Linked DNA regions of Homo sapiens: region 2 is linked to region 1. The links are contacts of gene promoters, found by promoter capture Hi-C in blood cells and fetal thymus (Javierre and others, 2016). All regions are on one chromosome and are shown on one strand. The core of a region is centred on a gene start or on the middle of the fragment in contact, and the rest is flanking DNA. Distances in the headings are between cores, read along the strand shown. Region 1 holds the start of SHISAL2A (shisa like 2A). Region 2 overlaps TUT4 (terminal uridylyl transferase 4).

What was found. The method cuts DNA at HindIII sites, captures the fragments that hold promoters and counts their contacts. A CHiCAGO score of 5 or more calls a contact.
Region 2: a fragment that was not itself captured here is called in contact with the fragment with the promoter of SHISAL2A in region 1 in 4 of 17 cell types (non-activated CD4 T cells, total B cells, total CD8 T cells and 1 more); the score reaches 8.1 in non-activated CD4 T cells.

Annotation. Positions count from the first base shown.
Region 1 is chr1:52,630,047-52,635,821 of GRCh38, forward strand. It overlaps SHISAL2A (shisa like 2A), which reads left to right and starts at 3,122. Exons shown (of 3, transcript NM_001042693.3): 1 at 3,122-3,629. The coding sequence starts at 3,448. LOC124904178 (a long non-coding RNA gene) reads right to left here and starts at 3,409. Exons shown (of 2, transcript XR_007066084.1): 1 at 3,262-3,409. RefSeq lists silencers at 3,000-3,109, 3,200-3,389, 3,400-3,449. The HindIII fragment of the contact is 18,193 bases long and covers 1-5,775 here.
Region 2 is chr1:52,504,839-52,510,411 of GRCh38, forward strand. TUT4 (terminal uridylyl transferase 4) reads right to left here. Exons shown (of 30, transcript NM_001009881.3): 4 at 4,758-4,874. Among named protein-coding and RNA genes, the nearest start is that of TUT4, 45 kb to the right of the region's middle. The HindIII fragment of the contact is 256 bases long and covers 2,076-2,331 here.

The DNA of each region.
Region 1 (5,775 bases), core at 1,872-4,371:
TGCATTTTGTTATTTTTTCTTTTTATTTCTTTTTTTTTTTTTTTTAGAGACAGGGTGTCTTCTCACTCTGTCACCCAAGCTGGAGTGCAATGGCACCATCACAGCTCACTGCTGCCTCAAACTCCTGGGCTCAGGTGATCCTCCTGCCTCAGCCTCCCAAGTAGCTAGGACTACGGGTGCATGCCACCATGCCCAGGCTGATTTTAAACTCCTGGGCTCAAGCAATCCTCCTGACTCAGACTCCCAAAGTTCTGGGATTACAGGCATGAACTGCTGCACCTGGCCTATTTTTAATTTTTCTTAATGAAGAAAGTAATACTACACATAGTTGGTGTAAAGATAGATAATGAAAAGCACAGAGCACAATTTCCCATTCACAGTGTGTTCTCCATAAATATTTCTCCCTGCCCACGCTTCCCTCCTATGCCTTTTTTCCCTTCTGGAGTTGGGGACTCTGGCCCCAGGCCTCATTTGGGAAGGGAGGAAGAGGCGGTACAGGACTCTGATCAGTTACTGGCTATGTGGCTTTGGGTAAATTATTTAACCTCTCTCTCAGTTACCTTGTCTGCAAAATGGGAAGACTAACACCTACCTCAAAGGAAGTTTTCAAGGACTACATGACATACAGGATGGGTATTGCCTGGCACATCATAGCTCTGTAATAAGTGTCTGCAGGAGAACAGAATGAAGGAACACAATGCATATAATGAAGGAAAAAGCATTAAAGTAGGAGCTAGAACAGAGACATGAGAGGATGTTCACATAGAGTCCATGGAGCCCAAGGAGCCTCTGGATAGAGTGTAGAAGGTTCATGAATTTACGTGGGAAAAATCACATCCTTGGTATGCATTACCTCTAACTGAAATTCAGTATTTTCTTTCATCATGCATATTGGTAAGAAAACCCACGATAGTATTAGTAGTGCTTGTGACTTTGTCACCAATAGAAATCACAGATATTTTCATATTGTATTACAGTAGAGACATATTGAAATACTAGTTATTTTCATTCACCACTTCAAAATTATAGTAATTAATAGACTCATCTCTAGATCTTATTGACACTTTTTAAAAAGTAGGACAAATCATGATTCAATATAATTGGTATCCTCTGTAACCCTAAATAATTTTTTTTTTTAGTTAAAAACATTATTTGTGGCCTGGTGCGGTGGCTCACACCTGTAATCCCAGCACTTTGGGAGGCTGAGGTGGGTGGATCACTTGAGGTCAGGAGTTCAAGACCAGCCTGGGCAACATGGTGAAACCCTGTCTCTACTGAAAATACAAAAATTAGCCAGGCGTGGTGACGCATGCCTGTAATCCCAGCTGCTTGGGAGGCTGAGGCAGGAGAATCACTTGAACCCTGGAGACAGAGGTTGCAGTGAGCCGAGATTCCAGCCTGGATGACAAAGTGAGACTCCATCTCAAAACAAAACACAAAAAACAAAAACAAAAAAAAACCCACTATTCTGAATAGGGGTTCATAGGCTTCATCAGACTGCCAAGGGGGACATGGAGACAGACATGGGTATCAGCCCTGCCTGGGCCATTGATCGCTGTGTGGTATTGGACTTGTTATTTCAGGCACATTCACCCCTGCGTGGCTCACCCCAGAGGGCTGTTGGGAGGAACAAATTAATTCTTGGCTGGGAGAGGGTTTTGGAAATTGTTGGAGGCTTTCTAGTTTTGCCAAAAGCCAGGGCAGAGCGCTTTCTTCCTCCCAGCTGATCTCCAGGCCTCCAGGAAGCCTCTCCCTCCCAGAGGATTCCTCCCCTGTACTCTCCATCTGATAAAGAGGCTGAAGTGCACCCTCATTAGTGTAGGCTCTCCAGCTCCCAGTCTGCTCAGACCCACAGCTCAGGGGAGGAATGTTCTGGAGGATAATAACAGTTCCCTCCAGCTTTCATATTTGACCTTACAGTGACTCTTGAGGACACCGCCTCCCTCAGAGCCCTCCCCTGCTTCCTCAGATGGTGCCCCTCTGTGTCCAGGTCCTTGCATTTCCCTTTTTACTGCCCTGTGCTGTGATCGTCAGTCAGTCTGACTCCTCCATCAGACTGTGTGTTTCTCAACGGCAGGCCCAGATCTGATCCCTCTCAGGGGCCCTAGGGCCCACCCAGGTCAGGGCAGCGGCACAATCAGCATCTGAGGAGCTGGCCTGGGTGAGGACAAGGAACCCAAAGCTCAGAGAGAAACAGCAGGGAAGGGGTAGAGCTGGGCTGGAGCCCAGATCCCCTGATACCCACGGCCCGTTCCCCACACGTCCAAACCAAGGGCGAAGGAATCGGGGGTGCCCGAGGCACCACAGTAACTATTTCCTACCCTACCCACTGCTGTGAAAAATGTAGAGCTAAGGCACTGAAGGTGCTGTATGAAGCCCTTCCAGATGGCGTAAGGCAACAGGGTACATGGGGGAAGCCAAGGCACTGAGAGCCCCTTCAGACTGTGGTTCTCTGATGCTAGTGAGAACACTGCCCTTGTTCTCTGGAAGTAATTTTTCAAAATGGACAGGTCTGCTGACTTTCTTTGCTGGTCAGTGTGGGGAAGGAGGTTACCGTCTGGGCCCATCCACACCCATATTCGGCTCCTTGTCCCAGGCCAGTGGCAGGCAGTATGAACAGAAGAGTGTGGACATTGTCCGTGCACGAGCTAGCTCTCAGCGAGACTAGCAGGGACTCCAGATGATGAGGACATCTAAAAGCCCGCTAGAAAAGAGGCACCATGAAAGCCGCAGAAAGAGCAAGGACTTCCTACTAGGCCGCCCCCGGTTAAAATCTCGTGGGCTTAGGAACTCCGGGAAATGGCTTCTCTCTGGCCCTCAGCTCTCACCTTTAACACGGATGCGAACATCCCCGGGCCCCTGGGTTTTTGCGGAGGTTGGGTGAGGTTGTGTTCACTCTCCTCACTGACCCCGCCGTGTGGTCGCCGGCTGGTGCCTTGTCTGTCTGCCCCAGCCCCGAATGCCCCGAGACTCCCGGCGCCGGCTCGGTGCAGGTAAGGCGCCCGCGCCCTGGCCTCGAATTCCCGCCCCGCCACTCTGGCCGCGTCGTGCTGTCGTTGCGCACCCAGCGCCCTCGTGCAGGCAGGGGGAGCGCAGTGGGGAGGGGGCAGGAAGCGCAGGCAGAGCCAGGCGAGCACGCGGCTCCCGGCCCAGCTCCCCGCGTCCGCTCCGGCTCCTGCCGCGTTCCAGCAGCCGTCACTCCCGCCGCCGGCCCCCGCCGCCCGCCCCGCCTGCCCCTACCCCTCCGCGCGGGCCGGGCACCTGGCCGCCGCTCGGTCCTCGGGGCCCCGCGCTGCTGTCTCTGTCTCGGCTTCTCTCGGCCCCTGGGTCTCTTCGTCTCTGCCGTTCTCAGGCTCAGCTCCGTCTCGCTCGGTCCCTCGCTTCCCCGCCGGGCTCTAGCCGGCCGTCTGGTGGCCCGAGGTGGCGGCGGGCTGGGCGCGGGGCGCGATGAGCGGCGCCTGCACGAGCTACGTGAGCGCAGAGCAGGAGGTGGTGCGCGGCTTCAGCTGCCCGCGGCCGGGGGGCGAGGCGGCCGCTGTCTTCTGCTGCGGCTTCCGCGACCACAAGTACTGCTGCGACGACCCGCACAGCTTCTTCCCCTACGAGCACAGCTACATGTGGTGGCTCAGGTACCGTCCCTGGCCCTCACCCTACCTTGAACCCCACTCCAGTCTCAGCGCCTTCACCCCAGCCTCAGCCCCCACCCGAGTGTCCACCTGAACATCAGCAGCAAGCTCTAGTCCTTACCGTCCTCATGCCCACAGCATCAACCACCCCGTGAAACCCCATCTCAGCTCGATTTCCTCATCCTGACCCCAACCATTATTTAGAGCCATGCTCGGACCTCCCCCTCCTCTAATCCAAAACAATCCTCACTCTATCCCCACCCCAAACTTCATTCCATCACCACCCTCATCCCAACCCCAAATCACATATCAAGCCTCCCCCTAACAGCAACTTCCATCTTCAAACATTCACAGGCAGCCCAACTCCACCCCAATCATCATCCCACCAAGGTGCCCTTCCTAATATCAACACCAGCCTTATTCCTGACTTTCCACACTCCCCAGTACTGACCCCAGACCTTATTCTATCACCAGCCCCAACCTCCTCTTCTGTCCTGCCTGCAGTCCCACCTCAGCTCTTCTCCCACATCCTGACTCCAAATATTATTAATATCTAGATCTACATCCAAACCTCAACCTCCAGACTTAACCCTCGCCTGGTGCTACACCCCAACCCCAGCCTCAGCCCAGCGTCAACCCTTGGTTCCCTTTTGTATTTAGTCATTCTTTCGGGCACTCTCTACTGAGCACTTGGTGTGTGCCAAGCCCTGTGGTGAGTGCTGGGGATGTACCCCATCCTCAAGCTAAGGCAGAAGACTCGGGAGTCAGAGCTGCCTCCAAGTTCATCATGAGACAATGGCATAGTGCAGAAGCTAGCTCAGGCCATATTCATAGAAGTGTTGACTCTCCACCCATAGGACCTCAGTTTCCCCATTTGTTCAGGGAAGAGGTTGCATTCCTGGAGCCTAAGTGTTGGCTTGAGAGGGTAATAGGTCTCAATCCCCCTGGGTCTCCAAAGGCCTTACCTGGAGAATGGAACTTGATCCTCAGCCTACTTTGGGAAACAGGCATCAGCAAAAATTGAGTGGGCCATCTCAGTAGTTAGTGATTTTCCTGTCCCTGGAGGTATATGAGCAGAGGCTGCTGCCCTCTGGGTGGGAAAGGACAGTGTCCTATGCCACGAAAACTTCTCAAGTCTCTGGCTTTTCATCTATCAAACGGGCAGTAGGATGATCAATCATTGCCCTGATTTCTGACTAAGGCAGTGGTAACGGTCAAATGACATACATAACAGAGCTGAAATCAACTTGACATATGCCAATGACAATTACAAATATTATTGCTTTTTCTAGGTGACTCGATCCACAATTCTAAATGATTTTCAGATGGCCAGGTTATCAGATCCTACATATTTGTGCTATCTATAACCCAGGGAATTATATTAATGTATTTTCTGTTCATCCATATATTCATTCATTCATTCATTCATTCTAGCCTTTACTTTGTGCCAGGCACTTTGCAAGGTATTGGAGACACAAAAATCAATTATTCCCTGCCCCTGAGGAACTCACAGTTTATTTAGAGATACAATGGTATTCACTTGACAAGTTCATTTTGCTTGCTGCCCAAAAAAACCAATGCACTGAGAACAACAGGTTTTGCAGCAAAGAAAGAGTTTAATAATCACAGGGCCAACCAAGTGGCAAAATAGGACATAATTCTCAAATCCACACCCTCATTCCCCACCCCCCACCCCACCAGAGAATTCGGAGACTATGGTTTCTCAAGGAATGGTGGCAGATGGGGCTAGGGAATAGGGAATGCCAATTGGTTGGGTTAGGGATAAAATCGTAGGGGATCAAAGCTACCTTCTTGCACTGAGTCAGTTGCTGGGTAGGGGAGCTCACAAGACCAGTTGAGCCAGTTTATTGGTATGGGTTACTGGTCCAGGTGGCACCAACTGGTCTATCAAAATGAAAGGTCTGAAAGATACCTCAAACACCAGTTTTAGGTTTTACAACTCCTCCTATAGGAGGAGTTGAGGAGATTACAAATCATGTGACCTCCAGCTACACGACTCCTGAACCATAATTCTAACCTTGTGGTTAATTTGTTAGTTTAACAAAGGCAGTTGCAGTCCCTGAGCAAGGAGGGTGTTAGTTTTAGGAAGGGGCTGTTATCATCTTTGTTTTAAAGTTAAACTATAAAC
Region 2 (5,573 bases), core at 954-3,453, 130 kb before region 1:
TTTCTAAAAGGCTTATTTAACTTAGCATAATTTCCCAAGGTTCATCCATGTTGTTGCATAATGCAGAATTTCCATCCTTTTTAAGGCTGAGTAATATTCCATTGTATGAATACTGTACATTTTGCTTATCTATTCATCCATCAATGGATATCTGAATTGCTTCCACATACTAGCTATTGTGAATAATGTTGCCATGAACCTGGTTGTATAAATATCTCTTTGAAACCCTGCTTTCAATTCTTTCAAGTGTATACCCAGAAGTGAAATTACTGGATCATACTGTAGTTCTATTTTTAATTTGTTGAAGAACCACCGTACTCTTTTCCATGGCAGCTACACTACTTTCATACCTGTCTTTTTTCCTAATCTTGGGGGGACAGCATTCAGTCTTTCATACTTAAGTATGATGATAACTGTTAGTTTTTTGTAGATTTTTTTTAACAGGGTCTCATTATATTGCCCAGGCTGATCTCAAACTCCTAGGTTCAAACAACCAAAGGAGCTGGGACTAACACACCCAGCTTTGTAGATGTCTTTATCATGTTATAGAAGTCGTCTTCTACTCCTAGTTTGCTTAGACTTTTTTTTTTTTTTTTTTTTTGAGACAGAGTATCACTCTGCCACCCAGGCTGGAGTGCAGTGGCGCCATCTCAGCTCACTGCAACCTCTACCTCTGGGATTCAAGCGATTCTCCTGCCTCAGCCTCTCGAGTAGCTGGAATTACAGGTGTGGGTCACCAAGCCCGGCTAATTTTCGTATTTTTAGTGGAGAGGGGGTTTCGCCACATTGGCCAGGCTGGTCTCGAATTCCCAACCTCAGGTGATCTGCCTACCTCAGCCTCCCAAAGTGCTGGGATTACAGGCATGATCCACCGCACCTGGCTGTGCTTAGACTTTTTATCAAAGCATTTTTGAAAACGCTTTTTCAGCATCTACTGAGATAATCACATAGTTTTCTCTGTTTGCTAACATGGTAAATCACAATGAGCGGGGTTTTTTTTGTTTTTGTTGTTTTTTGAGATGAAGTCTTGCTCTGTTGCCCAGGCTGGAGTGCAGTGGCACGATCTGAGCTTACTGCAACCTCAACTTTCTGGGTTCAGCCTCCCAAGTAGCTGGGATTTCAGGCATGAGCCACGATGCCCAGCTAATTTTTGTATTTTTAGTAGAGACGGGGTTCACCATGTTGGCCAGGCTGGTCTCGAACTCCTAACCTCAGGTGATCCGCCCTCCTCAGCCTCCCAAAGTGCTAGGATTACAGGCCTGAGCTACTGCGCCTGGCCAATGAGGGATTTTTTAATGTAAAACTAACACTGCACTCCTGGAATAAAGCCCCACTTGATCATGACACATTCATTCCTCTAATATGCTGTTGGATTCAATTGGCTAAAGTTATATTTAGAATTTCTGCATCTATGTTCATGAGGAGTTTTGGCCTAAAGTTTTCTTTCTTTTTTTTTCTCCCGTCGGAGTCAACAAGTTAAGAATAAAGTTTTCCTTTATTGCAATATGTCTCTGGTTTGAATATCAGAGTTACGTGGACCTCATATTCACAGACTGAACTGGGAAGTATTTCTCCTCTTCAGTGTTCTGGAAAAATTTGTACAGAACAAGTACATGTATATTGATCAATTATCCAGAGCTCATTAACTTTTTTCTTTTTGTTTAATTTTTTCTTTCTGTGTTTCACTCTGGTGGTTTCCACTGCTTATCTTCAAGAGTTCACTAACCTTTTCTTTTGCAATGTTTGATGTACTATTATTCCTACCCAATATAGTTTTAATCTTAGATGTCGTAGTTTTCGTTTCTAATAGTCCTGTTCATATCTTTTTTATATTTTCCATGTCTCTACTTCATCTCTGAAACATCAAGAATACAGTTATATTAACTGTCTTACTGTCCTTCTCTGCTAATCCTAACAAAGGCGTCAGTTCAAGGTCAGTTATTATAGCTGACTTTTCTCTTCATCATGATTTGTATTTTCCTGCCTCTTTGCATACCTGATAATCTTTGACTAAATGCTACATTATGTGAACTTTTTTCAGTGATGAGTATTTTTGTATTTCTGTAATATTCCTAAGCTTTGTTCTGTAATGACATTAAATACTTGGAAACCATTTATCATTTTGAATGTTGCCTTTAAAATATTTTATGTAGGACCAGACCACATTTAGTTTAGGGCTAAATATCCCTACTACTGAAACAAGATTCTTCTGAGTACTCTACCCAGTGTCCCATGAAGCACGAGGCTTTCCAGTCTGGATAGGAAGAAGTCCTGTATGAGCACCAATCACTGGTCTAATTTCCTCTGACAATTCTTTCCCTGGGTTCAGGAAGCTTTTTCATATGCATGCACCAATCAGCATTGTGCTGAATACTTTAAGAGGATCATCCACAGTTCTCTGGATTTCTTTTTGTGCAGTTTTCTCATTTTAGTTACACTGTCCTGTGAATTTTAGCTATCTTGGACTTAGTGCACTCTAAGGTCTCTCTCTTCAACTGTGAGAGTCCACTGGGTTCCCTTCCCTATAGTGCAACCTAGAAACTCTCAAGCTGGAGCCAACATTGGGCTCAGGCCATTTGTTTTTCATTCATTGACTCTGTCGCCTGAAAACCACTGCTTCATATTTCTGTATTTTTTTTTTGTTTGTCATTTCAAGGGAAAAGTAAATCCACTGTTACTCTAACTTCACCAAAAGTATACGTCCTATATGGCTGCATTCAAGTTTGCTTTCTTTTTGTTCATTTCTATAATGTTCTAAAGTTTCCCTATACGGGCTGAGCATCCCTAATCTGAAAATCCAAAATGTGAAATGCTCCAAAATCTGAAGCTTTTAGAACACCAACATGATGCTCAAAGGAAATGCTCATTAAAGTATAATGCAAATATTCCAAAATCTGAAAAAATCCAAAATACTTTGGTCCCAAGCATTTAGGATAAGGTATACTCAATCTGTAATGTGTATAGGTATAGTTTTCCTTTTTCTTTTTTTTGTGATAGAGTCTCGCTCCCTCGCCCAGACTAAAGTGAAGTGGTGTGACCTTGGCTCACTGCAGCCTCCACCTCATGAGTTCAAACAATTCTTATACCTCAGCCTCCCAAGAAGCTGGGATTACAGGCACATGCCACCATGCCCAGCTAATTTTTATGTATTTTTAGTAGAAACAGGGTTTTGCCACGTTGCCCAGGCTGGTCTCAAACTCCTGGGCTCAAGCAACTCACCTGCCTCAGCCTCCCAAAGTGCTGGGATTACAGACCTTAGCCACTGCACCCAGCCTAGGTATGATTTTCTTTTTAAGTTTCTTGCTTGCCCAGGTGAAACCCCGTCTCTATTAAAAATACAAAAATCAGCCAGGCATGGTATGCCTGTAATCCTAGCTACCTGGGAGGCTGAGGCAGGGTAATCGCTTAAACCTGGGAGGCAGAGGTTACAGTGAGCCAAGATTGCACCACTGAACTCCAGCCTGGAAGACAGAGTGAGACTCTGTCTCCAAAAAAAAAAAAAAAAAGGTTTCTTGCTTGCAAGCCCGAGCTTCCTGGAACTAATGATAGGCATCTTCTGACATTTCTGGAAAATTCCTAATTATTATCACCTAAACTACTCCCTTGTCCCTGTTCTATCTGCTTCAGTTCATTTGTTGTTTTCAAGAAAACTATGTTGAGCACCTACTGTTGTCAGACACTGTCCTAAGGAACTCAGAAACAAAAATAACTAAATATGCCTTCTAGAACACTGCATATTGAAGTCTAGAAGGGAAGAGAAGGTAGACAGCCAGAATACAATGTGTTAGATTTTCTGATCAAAATATGTGGAAGTTGTTATGGGGGCACAGAGAAGGAGTATCCAACCCAGACTTGCTGAGAGGGTCAGGTAGAATATTTCTTAAAGAAGATACATGAGCTAAGACCTAGAGATAAGAGGTTACACAGTATTATTACTGCTGTTGTAACTTTAAAAAGAAAAAATTAAATAGCTAATTTACTAATACATTTTTAAAAGCCCTCTATTCATATCTATGTCTATGGGATATTTCAATAGAAATAACTGAAAAATTACAAATTCCCGAAGCTTATAAGTTTCTTAATTGTCTGCACTTCTCCAGCTTCACATCACATCATTTTCCCCCAGCTCTCTTTGTTCCAATCATACTAGACTTAAAGTTACTCATATGCCATGCCTTTTCCTGCCTAAAGACTTTTAATTCATGCTGCTTTTTGTGTAAAATGCTCTCCCACTTACCCTTCTAGGCCACTCACCTTTTTGCCATTTAAACTACTACTTCATTCAAAAGTCACTTTCTCAGAGAAACCTCCCCTGTTCTAGATCAAGTAAAATATCTTCATACACCTCCTTAGCACAATCTTCCCCCCCTAACAAGACTCATTATATTTAAATCTTTATTCAACGCATGCCCTCATCAATTCTTAGAAAATCTGAGGGCAGGAACCACAACTATCTTATTCACCACTGCCTAGAAGTAGCACACAAGAACTCAATAAACATCAGTTGGATGGACTAATTGTACCTAACAGCTCTAAACTTAGGAATCAACATTCTAAAGGATGAGCAAACCGGTCTCAACAAGGTTCCTTCCTGATTATCTCAGATAAGGAAGGCAACAATTGCTTCCAAAGCTATCACTTCAGTTACCAATATAAGATTGGACAAATATTTCATTTTTAGTTTCACAAATAAAAAATATTCAATATGGTTTTACAACTTGAAAAATAAATAAAAGTATTTTTTAAAAAGAACTTACCAAAATATTTTTCTTATGTCGTTTCTCCTTTATATGTTTATGAGCCCCCTGGATATTTTCAATGTGAATTAAGCAAAGTTTGCATAGATACCGACAATTGGTATATTCTGGTGATCGCTGAAGAGACAAATTTTAAAAATGCACTTTATTCAGAAAACAGAGGAGTAAACTATTGACTATATAAGTGAATAATACAATTATGTAAGTAGACAGAAATAAGCACTGAAGGTTTTTTCTTTATCCTTTCCTTCTTCTAAAGTAATAGTTTTTAATAAACTTATATACTGAAGAGATAGTAGTCCTTTTTCAAAATAGTTATCATAGGAGATTACATACTAACTTTAATACGATATCTAACAATATCATGGTAATGCTAAATTATGTTTAATATTCACCTACTATCATCTTTAGAATCCAATGTAAGAAAAGCAGTCGGGCTGAGTGTGGTGGCTATGCCTGTAATCCCAGCACTTTGGGAGGACGACGCTGGCAGATCACTTGAGCTCAGGAGTTGAAGACAAGACTGGACAACATGGAGAAACCCATTCTCTACTAAAAATACAAAATTTAGCCGTGCATGGTGGCGCAGGCTTGTAATCCCAGCTACTCTGGTGGCTGAGGTGGAAGAATTGTCTCAGCCTAGAAGGCAGAGTTTGCAGCAGCGAGCCGAGATCGCATCACTGCACTCAAGCCTGGGCAACAGAGCAAGACTTCGTATTAACAAAAAAAAAAAAAAAAAAAAAAAAGAAAAGTGGTCTTGCTATTTAGTCTTATTCCAATGTTGTCCCCAAAACTGATTTCAAATTTAACTTGCAG